Regions from separate parts of the Homo sapiens genome. Here regions 1 and 2 are each linked to region 3. The links are contacts of gene promoters, found by promoter capture Hi-C in blood cells and fetal thymus (Javierre and others, 2016). All regions are on one chromosome and are shown on one strand. The core of a region is centred on a gene start or on the middle of the fragment in contact, and the rest is flanking DNA. Distances in the headings are between cores, read along the strand shown.

Region 1 (4,140 bases), core at 401-2,900, 260 kb before region 3:
GCAAATAAAACTCTTAAGAGCTTCTGAAAGAAAGTTACAGATTAGAGATATTTTCATCTCTAAATCACATGAATTAGGATTGGCTGGGTCTTTCCACTTAAAACTTGGAGAAGTCATAAAAAGAAATCTTGTAAAGAACTCCATGTCACTATTAGCAGAAACATGCAATTTATAAAATGATATCTTTGGCCAGGCGCGGTGGCTCATGCCTGTAATCCCAGCACTCTGGGAGGCCGAGGCGGGCGGATCACTTGAGGTCAGGAGATCGAGACCATCCTGGCTAACACAGTGAAACCCTGTCTCTACTAAAAATACAAAAAAAATTAGCCGGGCGTGGTAGTGGGTGCCTGTAGTCCCAGCTACTTGGGAGGCTGAGGCAGGAGAATGGCGTGAACCCAGGAGGCGGAGCTTGCAGTGAGCACTCCATCTCAAATAATAATGATAATAATAATATCTTCACCTTTCAGTTTTTAAATTGCAAGTCCCATGTCCCGGGAATTCCCCGGTCCTGGGCAAAGTGGGATGGTTGGTCACCCAACCTATATGGATGCCCATTGATATTAAAAAATAAAAGTAATCACAATAGACATGAGGGAGAGAGTTGTGTACAGTGTGAGTGTACAGAATAAAAGGTCTGGGGGGTTTATACCAAAATGTGCACAGTGGCTACCTGGAGGAGGAGGGTTAGACAGGAATAACAGCAAGGAGACTTTTGCACGGTGCTGAGTGACTTTTTAACTTGCATATTATTTTGGAATGCATTTTTTCAACATTGAAAGAAAGTCATGTCTTCCTAGAAATATAGGATATAGGACCACTACAAACGCTTTACTCTTAGTCTCCTTTTTTTCTTTTTCTTTTCTTTTTTTTTTTTTTTGAGACAGAGTCTTGCTCTGTCAGTCAGGCTGGAATGCAGTGGCGCAATTTTAGCTCACTGCAACCCCCACCTCCTGGGTTCAAGCGATTCTCCTGCCTCAGCCTCCCAAGTAGCTGGGATTACAGGTGCCCATCACCACATCTGGCTAATTTTTATGTGTTTAGTACAGATGGGGTTTCGCCATGTTGGCCAGGCTGGTCTCGAACTCCTGACCTCAAGTGATCCACCTGCCTCTGCCTCCCAAGGTGCTGGGTGGCATGAGCCACCGTGCCCAGCCTTAGTCTGCTTTAAAAAAAAAAAAAAAAAAAAAAAGAACAACCATTTGAGGAAACAGAAACAGAATACTATTCCTTAAGACAGTAGCTTTGGAGGCAAAAAACAGAATTGTTTATAAAACGTTGTGGAACTTATATGGGAGCATGTCCAGGGATCCACACCACCATTTATAGAAGCAAAGAAAGGCCCTTCTCTTTCATCTGCGTTACATTTCGAGCTCTTCTGATTAGCTTCCTTCAAACATGACGGGAGTCGTTTTTCCCCGGGGACCCCAAGTGCATGCCTTCAGACAGGGTCTGCTCTCACTATACATTGGGTTCGAATTTACCTGGACGTTGGCAGAATGGTCCGGACCCCGGGGAGGGGCGAGCTGACTTACCACTTTATTCCTGCCGCTTTTCTCTTGCCATGTCCTCCCCACCGTGCATTCAGGGTTACATTTTCCAGGTTCCTTGTTTGCTGAGGGCCTGAATCTAAGCCTGCTAGCTGCTTACTCTGGGGACTGCAAATGTCACTTTTAGATTAATCAGCCCCTGCTGTTTAAAAATATCCCTGGAGCACTTAACCTTCAAAGCAGCAACAACCCGGGGCAAAGATGAGAAAGATCCCACGTCAAACCACTTGTGCAGCCCTGGCTACTCCTGGGAGAGTTCTGCTATCTGCCTTTTAATCCCATAACTCGCTTTATTTCATAATTCTTAGCTGTTGAAGCCATGAGGCATCTAAAGTCCATGTTGTCGTAAGCAGTAGGCAGAAAGTCATCTGGGCCCTCCTGTGACATGCTGAAAATTAACTGCCTACAGGTGTTGGTCATTTGAGAAACAAGCCCCCATTGAAAACCGTGAATGGGAAGGTGATCGCTATCAGGTCACCTGGCTTCTCTCCCCTGAAAAGATTTGGCGAAACCCTCTCAAATCACGCCACTTAATGGAATGTTTCCAATTTCTTGTGACTTGGGGATAAAAGAAAAAAACAGCTCCATTGCCACATTCTCATTCAGGGTTGACTGGCTCTTGCTAGGGTTGAGCACAGAAGAGGAAATTCAGCACACGCTGCAGTTACATAGTGTTCTGCAACGTGGGGAGGGCTGGCATGTGGGACAAAGGTCGCCTCCAAGGCCCAGCTGGAGAAGCCCAGCCAACTAGGCAGCAGGAAAGTGGAGACCACATAGGAGCACATTGTGCTCAGGCAACAGGGAAGGTGGAACCCACTTCCTGCCAACAATGATGGCCTTACTAAACAGCAAGTGGAGAAACTGGCGAGAGCGCTGAGCACGGGATCTGTGCAAAATGGTTTAAATGGAAATTGCTGCTGGGGCTGGTGCAGCCTGTTCACAGCTACTTTGTTTCTGGGCTTATTTTGCAATAAGGAACAGTCATTGAATATTGGACTTCTTGGGATTTTCTCCACTGGACTTGGAAGCATGTGCTCTGGAAACCTCAGCATTATCAGCTGTAACCCCACAGCACCAGGTACATGTTACAGGAACCGGGGTGAAGGAATGCAGGTCAAATGCCTGCACAATGCCCGGCCCGAGTCATATGTTCTCTAGCCACAGTAGCCCTTGTGATGGCTCTTAGTCTATTTATTAAGACAATAAAAGAGGTGACTCTCAAACAAACCTATGTTTCCAGGGAGAGCCATCTGTGATTCAAGGACATTTTTATAAAATTCCATTGAAAAAAATTCTTAGGCTTCTAACTTCATGAAAAAAAAATTCTTTCCCAGTGATTCCAAATAATCATGATCTAGGCAGGGTGTTGACAGTGGCAGGACTATTAGGCTTTGAAATCAAGCTGATGTGGGTTTGAATCCTCCCTCCATTAGCCATGACTTTGAGCAAATGGCTGAGCTTCAGTGTCCTCATCAACTACTTCACCATATGGGTGAGAAAATGAAATGATTTATATTGAGTTTCTGGCACAGGGGCTTGCTCATGACAAGCACTTAATATCTTTCTAATGAAATTCATTACTTGCAAAAAGACTAGACATACCCACACATACAGGTGAAGAACTCTGCAGTGATTCAGTTCTCCCTAGACACTATCTCTTTAAGACACAGGTATTTTCCAGAATATAATTGGAAGGCTTGAAACCAAAGTTATTCATAAACTCTTTCCATCAAACACAAGAACGGTAATAGAAATATATTTCTTCAAACAGCTGTTAGTTTCAGAAAGTCACAGGTATCAAGTTACATTTTTTGTTTTGTTTTGTTTTGTTTTAGAAATAGGATCTTGCTCTGTTGCCCAGGCTGGATGGAGTGCAGTGGCATGATCATAGCTCACTGCAGCCTCGAACTCCTGGGCTCAAATGATCCTCCTGCCTCAGCTTCCCAAGTAGCTAGAACTACAGGCACACACCACCCCTGGCTAATTAAAAAAAAAAAAATTTTTTTTTTTTAAAGACAAGGTCTCATTATGTTGCCCAAGTTGGTCTTGAACTCCTGGCCTAAAGCGATCTTCTTGCCTTGCCTCCTAAAGCACTGGGATTACAGGTATGAGCCACTGTACCTGGCCCAAAAAAAATTATTAAGTGACCACATGGTCTAACAAAACAAGGCACCTGGAAAGAAATCACCAGTCCTGCTGCAAACCGGACCCTCTGTGAGAATTCACATGCCTTCCCCCACCAATTAAATCAGAATTTCCAGGGATGGGGTCTGGCTTTGCATGTTTTAGCTTCTCTAGGCTGGAGGAGCACTAGCTTCTTGTTGGAAGGCTCCCTACCTTCCTCTCCCACACCCTCACCCCAAACATCATTAAGAGAGACAAAAGAACATGCTATATACACAACTAACAAGCAGAGAACATAAATTATTGATCTCCTGGTCTGCTCCGCTCACCAATATTTATATTTCCAAGCATATTTCAAAAACTTAAAAACTGGTTCCCTAGCCTGGGCAACTTAGCAAGACCCCATTTCTATTAAAAACTTAGCCAGGTATGGTGGTGCATACCAGTGGTCCCAGCTGCTCAGGAGGCT
Region 2 (3,915 bases), core at 716-3,215, 310 kb after region 3:
GAGTGATTACTCCCACTTTATTCTTTTTCAAGATCATTTTTAGCTATTCTAGGGCCTCTGCCATCCCATATACATTTTAGAATAAGCTTGTCTAGGTCTACAAAAAACCTTGTTGGGATTTTAATTGGAGTTTCAGTAAGCCTGTAAGTCAGTTTAGGGAGAATTTACTTCTTGACTATGTTGAGTTTTTCAATCCATGAACATGAAGTGTCTCTTTTTTTAGGTCTTTGATTTCTTTCCTCAGCATTTTGTAATTTTCAGCATACAGATTTTGTAAACTTTTTAAATATACACCTAATTATTTAGGTTTTTTGGAGTGATTGTAAATGGTGCTATGTCTTTAAATTTGGTTTCCACATGTTCTTTTGTTTTTTTTTTTGTTTTTGTATGTTTATCTTATATTCTGTGACCTTGCTCAGTTCACTATTTTTGGAGTTTTTTTTTTTTTTAATTGGTTCCTTAAGATTGTCTACTTAGCCATATCATCTACAAATCAGGACAGTTTTATTTTTCCGAGCTGTATAGCTTTTATTTCTTTTCCTTGTCTTATTGAACAGGCTAGAACTTATAGGACTTTGTTGGAAAAGAGTGGTGAGAGCAGACATCCTTGCCTTGTTCTTGATTTTAGGAGGAAAGTGTTCAATCTTTTACCATTAGGAATGATGTTAAGGTAACCCTATATCCCAACTTATGGGATAGATTTTTTATAGATGCTCTTTATCAGGTTGAGGTTGTTTCCCTCTATTCCTAACATGCTGAGTGTTTTAACCATGAATCGTTGTTGGATTTTGTCACATGCATTTTCTGCATCTATTGATACCATGAGTTTTCTTTAGCCTTTTGATACACTGGATTACAGTAATTGATTTTTAAATGTTGAATTAGCCTTGCAAACCTGGAATAAATACCACTTGGTCATGGTGTATAATTCTTCTTATACACTGAATTTAGTTCTTTAAATTTTCCTCCGTACTGTTTTAGTAGCATCCTACTTATTTTGATTTGTTGCAATTTCATTTTCATTCACTTTTTTTAATTTGTAAATTTTCTTGGAGACTTCCTCTTTGACCTGCAGATTATTTAGAAGTGTATTACTTAATTTTCACGTGTTCAGAGATTTTCTTACTGTTAGTGGTTTCTAATTTGATTCCATTGTGGTCACAAAACATACTCTGCATGGTTTTCATTTCTCTTAAATTGTTGAGGTTTGTTTTATGGCCAAGGATATGGCTTCAGTGAATGTTCCGTAAGTACTTGAGAAAAATACATATTCTGTATTGTTGGGTGGGCTGTTCTCTATATAAATTAGGTCATGTTCGTTGACGGCGTTATTGAGTTCTTCTATAACCCTGTTCTGCCTAGTTTAAAAAAAAATTAAACAATTTCCTTTCTTTTTAAAAACTTAAAAATTTTTTAATTTGCTTTTGTCTAATTTTCTTTTTCTTTTATTCATCTTCTTTTTGACCAGGTTCAACATATTCAAGTGTCTAGTAGTTTTATCAGTTGCTGAAAAGGGAGATGTTGAAGTTGCCAAATGTAATTGCTGCTGTGTCTCTTTGAGCTCTGTAATAGTTTTTGCTTCATGAATTTTCAAGCGCTCTTTGGTTCCTACACATTTAGGATTGTTATGTCTTCCTGGTAGATTGATCTATTTATTATTATGTGTCATTATATAATCCTTTTTATCTCTAGTAATTTTCTTTGCTCTGAAGTGTACGTTATGTGATATTAATATGTCCGCTTCAACTTTTTAATTAATGCTTGCATGTTATCTTTTTCTCTCCTTTTCCTTTCAACCAGTTTACCTGTGTCTTTGAATTTGAAATGAATTTCTTGTACTCACCATATAGTTGGGTTGTGTTTTTATCCACTCTACCATTATCTACCTTTTAATTAGCATATATGCACCATTCGCATTTAAGGCAATTGTTGGTTTATTCAGACCAAAGCCTGCCGTTTTACTATTTTCTGTTTATTTTCTGTTTCTCATTCTTCTGTTTCTCCTTTCTTGCCTTTCTGTGGATTATTTGAATATTTTTTAGATTTTCATCTTGATTTATTTATTTATTTTTTTGAGATGGAGCCTTGTTTTGTCACCCAGGCTGGATCTCTGCTCACTGCAACCTCCGCCTCCCGGGTTCAAGCAATTCTCCTGTCTCAGCCTCCTGAGTAGCTGGACTACAGGCATGTGCCACCACACCCAGCTAATTTTTTGTATTTTTTGGTAGAGACAGGGTTTCACCATGTTGGCCAGGCTGGTCTTGAACTCCTGACCTCATGATCTGCCCGCTTTGGCCTCCCAAAGTGCTGGGATTACAGGTGTGAGCCACCATGCCCAGCCATCTTGATTTATTTAAGGTGATTTTTAGTGTAATTGCTTTGAATAGTTTTCTCAGTGGTTGCTTTGGGTATTAAAATATACGGAGTTGACTTACATGGTATCCGTGTTTTACCACTTGAATGAAGTGAGGGAATCTTCCATTTCAGTTCTCTTTCCATCCCCACTTTTAAATAATACTGTGTTGGGTATCAGAAGTTCTTACAATGTTTGTTCCATTACATATGATTTAGAAAGCTCATGAGGAGAGGAGGATAATCTGTCGTAGTTCCCGTATTTCTGCTCTTCCTGTTCTTTCTTCCTTTTTGATGCTTTAGGATTCCTTCTTCTAACTTTTCTGTTCGAAGAACTTCCTTTAGCTATTCTTCAAGGGTAGGTCTGCTAGTGACATTTTTTTCATTTTTCTTTGTCTCAGATATATGGTAACTTAAAATAATTTTAGTTTGAAAAGTTTCAAATGTACAAATAAAACTTTATGTACCTGTCACTCAGCATCAACAGATACCAACCTGCTGCCACTCTTGTTTCTCTAATAGGGATTTCTATCTTTTTTTTTTTTTTTTTTTTTTTGAGATTGGGTCTTGCTCTGTCACCCAGGCCTAGAGTGCAGTGGTGTGGTCTCGGCTCGCTGCAACCTCTGTCTCCCAGGCTCAGGTGATCCACTTCAGCCTCCCAAGTAGCTGGGACCACAGGTGCATGCCACCATGTCTGGCTAATTTTTTGTATTTTTGGTAGAGATAGGGTTTGACTGTGTTGCTGAGGCTGGTCTCGAACTCCTGAGCTCAAGCAATCCACCTGCCTCGGCCTCCCAAAGTGCTGGGATCACAGATGTGAGCCACCACAACTGGCTTCCATCTTTTTTATTTAGTAAAATAAAAGAGGTCTTACAGTGTACCTCACATGTGCTAAAGGACGTTATGAAATTACCTTTTTATTTTTTAGTTTTTCTTAAAGACCAGTGTAACAGTAGAAATTTTTTAAATCCTTGGAAGACCTGGTATGAGCTAGAAACTAGTAGTGTCCTCATTTTATAGATGAGGAAATAGAGCTTAGGAAAGTAAATAACTTACCTAAGGTCACATACTTTTTATTTGTTTCATTAGAATGCCTCCTTTATTTCCAAGAGAACCCAAATGTCTTCTAACAGGAACTGTAACAGATTTGAGGGAGCTTTATGTTTGTTACAAAAGCCTCTTTTATTGTTTTGTCTTCTACCTGTGGGTACGTGCTGGGTTGCTGTTTCAGTGGTTTTCTCAGATAGCACGTTTATTTTGTTTGTGGCAGGTATATGTGTAGTTACCAGTAGTGACAAAAGCTAAGTTACTTGATGACGGTGTTTTAAATTTCAACTTGTTTCTTTTCCTGTTAGTTGTCTATCAACGTCTATGACTACAACTGCCATGTGGACTTGATCAGACTGCTCAGGCTGGAAGGGGAGCTTACCAAGGTGAGGATGGCCCGCCAGAAGATGAGTGAAATCTTTCCCTTGACTGAAGGTAAGCTTCAGCAGTCAGGCTGCTTTTAGAAACAGAAACAAGGCTTGCACATTTTTTACAATGTTGAAAGTGGGACATGCT
Region 3 (4,142 bases), core at 609-3,108:
AGTGAGCTATGATTGTGACATTGCACTTCAGCCTGGGTGACGGGAGTGAGACCCTGTTTCAGAAAAAAAGTGAGAGAAAGAGAGGAAGGAAGGAAGGAAGGCAGGAAGGAAGGAAGGAAGGAAGGAAGGAAGGAAGGAAGACTAGTGTTGATGCATGAAATGGAGTTAGGTTCTGGCTTCAAATTACTATAAATGGGTTTTTCACCCAGGAAACATTTTGTGGGAATGGAGCAATTCTTGTTGGGGAGACTGTCCAGTGCATTGGAAGACATTTAGCATCCAAGGCTCTTGCACTCTAAATGCCAGGAGCTCTCCCCCTCCATCAGCAAGACAACCACAAACATTCCCACAAATCCCCTCTTAGAAACGCTCCGTAGAAGCTACAGTGCCCCCCACTAGAATCACCTTTGAGATGAATCGTGCTGAGACCCTGTGAATAACATGGAGGAGGTCACAGCCCCAGGACAGAGGGAGGGACGGGGAAGAATCCAGGAGGCTGCGTGGGTTTCCTGTTGGGCAGTAAGACAAATTTGCTAAGCTGCGGGGCAGGCTGGGACCACTGCGTTTGCGAGTGCTTGTGCAACATGCAGAGGTTGGGGGTGGGAGCCGGGAGATGAGATTTTGGCTAAAAGAAAAGTTTCCTACTACTAAGTCAAGCCAGAATTGCCTTCTTGGTATCTTATTCCATGTTCCCCTCTCCATCCCCATAACTGGTCACCTCTCCCCGGGACAACAGCAGCAGCCTCCTCCCTGGTCTCCCTCAGCCCTCTGCCCCGTGGTCCCTCATCCACGCAGCAGCCGGAGCGATCTTTCCAGAGAGGATGGAGACTCCAGCCATTCCTCCCCTCTTCCCTTCCCTGAGTGCTGGCCTCCGGTTGACAAACTTCTTCCTGCTTCAGGGCACGCTGATCCCCCCTGCTTGGAGAGCTGTCTCTCTGTTCTTTCACCTGTTAATCCTGCTTATGCTCAAGCCCAAGCCTCAGAATAAAGCTCTTCTGGGAAGCCTTCCCTGACCTCCAAGGAGTTGGCTGGGTTTCAGAACACCCAGAAAGAATTCATTGAAAAAGATTAGCAAAATACTTTTTTAAAAACGTGCCTAATAACTTGATTAACCTCTGCAAAATCAGGCGAATCTATTTTGCTTACTGTTTTTGTTTTTTGTTTTTTGTTTTTTTGAGACCGAGTCTCGCTCTGTCGCCCAGGCTGGAGTGCAGTGGCGCGATCTCAGCTCATTGCAACCTCCGCCTCCCAGATTCAAGCGATTCTCTTGCCTCAGCCTCCCGAGTAGCTGGGACTACAGGCGCGCACCACTGCGCCCAGCTAATTTTTGTCTTTTTAGTAGAGACGGGGTTTCACCATGTTGGCCAGGATGGTCTCGATCTCTTGACCTCGTAATCCGCCCGCCTCAGCCTCCCAAAGTGCTGGGATTACAGGCGTGAGCCACCGCGCCCGGCCCCAGGACGTCTTTTATTTCCTGGTCGCTGTACAGTCCTGTCTGCACGGTCGCCGGGCCTCAGTTTCCCCAGGCAGAGCAGCGGGCAGGGCCCCTGGGGCGTACGGGCTCCGGGCGGCGCGCGCGCCCCCGAGTCCCAGGCCTGATAGCGGGGCGCGCGGGCGGGGGCGCGTGTGTCGGGCGCGCGAGGGACGTGATCGACCAGCCGAGGCCTCGGGCAGCCCTCAGGGCCCCCGCGCACGCGCGCCTCCTCGTCCCGCCCTGCCCGCTTCCCCGCCCACTCCGCGCACTGAGGCCTGCGCGCGCCGGCGCGGGAGGCGGGAGCTGGGGGCGGGGGCGGTGGCGACGCCGAGGGGGAGGGGCGGGCCCGGCCCGGCTCGGCCCGGCCGCCCGCGCGCGGCTCCAGGAGGCCCCGGGCCCGGCCCGGGCGGCGGTGGCGGTGGCGGCTCTAGCTCGAGACGTCTGTGGCGCCCTCGCACCGCGCCGCAGCCATGGCCCTGGTGACCCTGCAGCGCTCGCCCACGCCCAGCGCCGCCTCCTCCTCGGCCAGCAACAGCGAGGTGAGCCCCGGGCTCGCCGCGCCCGGCCTGGGCCGCCGGACGCCGCGCCGAGGCCGCCGGAGCTGGGGCCGCGCGTGCGGGGCAGGGGGGCGGCTGCGCGGGCTCCTCGGGGCCCCGCCGTAGGAACAGAGCCGGGCAGCCGGACCGGGGTGACCGTGCGAGGACTGTGTGCGATGTGACCCTGTCTTGGGGAGCTGTGCGGGGACTTTGTGTGCGGTGTGACCCCTATCGGGGGGCGACTTTGCAGGGACTGTGTATGCAGTGCGACCCCTCTGGGAGTGTCTGCAGGATACTGTGTGTGCGCTGTGACCCACATCAGGGGGTTACCCCCATCTTGGGGTGACCCCTGTTAGGCGGAGACTGTGTGCGTTGTGACCCCTAAGGGTGACTGTGCAGAGACTGTGTGTGCAGATGTGACCTCGTGATTGTGTGGGGACTGTGATTTCAGGTGTGACCCCCATCTTGGGTTGACCTCTGTCTGGGGAGGACTGTGCGTCTGTCGGGACTCCCATTTGTGAGTGACTCTGCAGTGTGACCAGGGTCCAGGGGTGACTGGATGTGCAACTGGGACCCTTGATTGGGTGACTGCGTGAGCCGCTGGTTCTGAGACCTGTGGCCGGGGTAGTTCTAGGCCCTTTGCCTGTATGCCTGGCTGTGCGATGTGAGATGTGACTGTTGCTGACCTGCCGTCCGGGGACTGTGCCAGCGTGAGACAGGCATCTGGGAGTGCCCCTACAAACGTGTGAGATTGTTTCCCCGCCTGCCGCCTCTGGAGTTCTGTCTGTAGGCGTGCCCGTGTCACTGTGTGACGGTGACCGAGCGTGCTGTGGGCTCTGTGTGGCTGTGTTTCACGTCTGTGCGTGCAGCCTTAGTCTGGCTTTTCCTTTCTGTAACATCACTCAGGCCTGTGTGTTTATGTGCATCTATCTTTCTGTGTGGCTGTGACCCATTCTGGGTGATTGCATAGGTGCATTCCTGGGTTGCGTGTCCTGGCACTGTGCGCGTTTTTGTGGGTCTGTGTGTGGCCCAGGTCCGTTTGCCTGGCCACTTTTTCCTCTGGGGTTGATTGAGGGCACTGTTGCCCTCTTAGCCTGCAGGGTTGGCCTGGCTTGTCCTAGGCTGGGGCCTTGGGCCTCTGAGCAGGTCAGCCCTCTGTAGCTGCAGGGATGACCCTCTGGTCGCGCAATCTTGCCCACCATCTCTTGAAGAACCCGTCAAGGCCTCTGGTCTAAACTCTTACCTATAACAAGGCTGAGTGTCCGCCTGCAGACCCTTAGCTGTGTTTAGAGAAGACTGGAGGAGCGGCCCTGCGGTCCCAGGCCCAGGAAGTTCCGCAGCCAGCATCTGGGCTCTTCAGCCCCTTTCTTTGTGGGAGGGAGTGGGGGAAGTTGACTGATAACACGGGGGAGGTTTGTGTGTCTGAGAGAGACAAGAGAATAATGTTTGCATTTGGCTTGACAGCCCTGTCTCCTGGTAGGGTAGTTCTTCAGCCTTGTTTTGCTGGGATTGGCAGGGACATTTTCAGAGTGGCTGGGAAGTTGAACCTTCACAGCCCCCTCCTTGGAGAGGAGAGGCCATTCATGAGTTATCTATACACAGAAGGTTCTAGTAATCCCCCTCTACACGCTGATTAGAGGCAAAAGAACACTGGCGATCAATAGCCTGCTACTGAGAAGTTAGGTTGCAGGAGCGCCTTTCCTTCCCACAGCGAGGAGGGGCTGTTTTCTGTTCCGGTCACTGCTGTCTGGCAATTTATGCACTTAATCTCAGGTTCTCATCACAAAAGTTTATGTGAGGTAAGGGGAGAGGTTGGCTTCAGGCTGAACCTGTCAGCCCAGATTTCTGATTCAAAACCCCATGTTCCTAGAGTTACTTGCAACCTAATCTGTTCTTGTCTTACGCATTTTAAGGTCTTATTATTTTTTAGTTACATACCATAAATTTGCCATTTTAAAGTGTACAATTCAGTGGTTTTTAGTATATACATGAGATTGTGCAACCACCACCATCTAATTCCAGAACATTTTCATCCTCCCCAAAATAGGAACCCTGTACCCGTTAGCCCTCACCTGCAGCCTCCCCCTGCCCCATTCTCCCTAACCTTAGGCAACCACTAATCTACTTTCTGT

Evidence for each region. The method cuts DNA at HindIII sites, captures the fragments that hold promoters and counts their contacts. A CHiCAGO score of 5 or more calls a contact.
Region 1: the fragment with the promoter of ACACB here is called in contact with the fragment with the promoter of SSH1 in region 3 in 4 of 17 cell types (activated CD4 T cells, non-activated CD4 T cells, naive CD8 T cells and 1 more); the score reaches 7.3 in activated CD4 T cells.
Region 2: a fragment that was not itself captured here is called in contact with the fragment with the promoter of SSH1 in region 3 in 4 of 17 cell types (neutrophils, non-activated CD4 T cells, total CD8 T cells and 1 more); the score reaches 8.5 in neutrophils.

Annotation. Positions count from the first base shown.
Region 1 is chr12:109,114,097-109,118,236 of GRCh38, reverse strand. ACACB (acetyl-CoA carboxylase beta) reads right to left here and starts at 1,650. Exons shown (of 53, transcript NM_001093.4): 1 at 1,533-1,650. The HindIII fragment of the contact is 11,769 bases long and covers 1-4,140 here.
Region 2 is chr12:108,549,007-108,552,921 of GRCh38, reverse strand. SART3 (spliceosome associated factor 3, U4/U6 recycling protein) reads left to right here. Exons shown (of 19, transcript NM_014706.4): 2 at 3,708-3,834. Among named protein-coding and RNA genes, the nearest start is that of SART3, 10 kb to the left of the region's middle. RefSeq lists a silencer at 3,577-3,646. The HindIII fragment of the contact is 3,753 bases long and covers 89-3,841 here.
Region 3 is chr12:108,855,299-108,859,440 of GRCh38, reverse strand. It overlaps SSH1 (slingshot protein phosphatase 1), which reads left to right and starts at 1,858. Exons shown (of 15, transcript NM_018984.4): 1 at 1,858-2,013. The coding sequence starts at 1,945. RefSeq lists a silencer at 1,389-2,128 and enhancers at 2,559-2,608, 2,661-3,162. The HindIII fragment of the contact is 10,101 bases long and covers 1-4,142 here.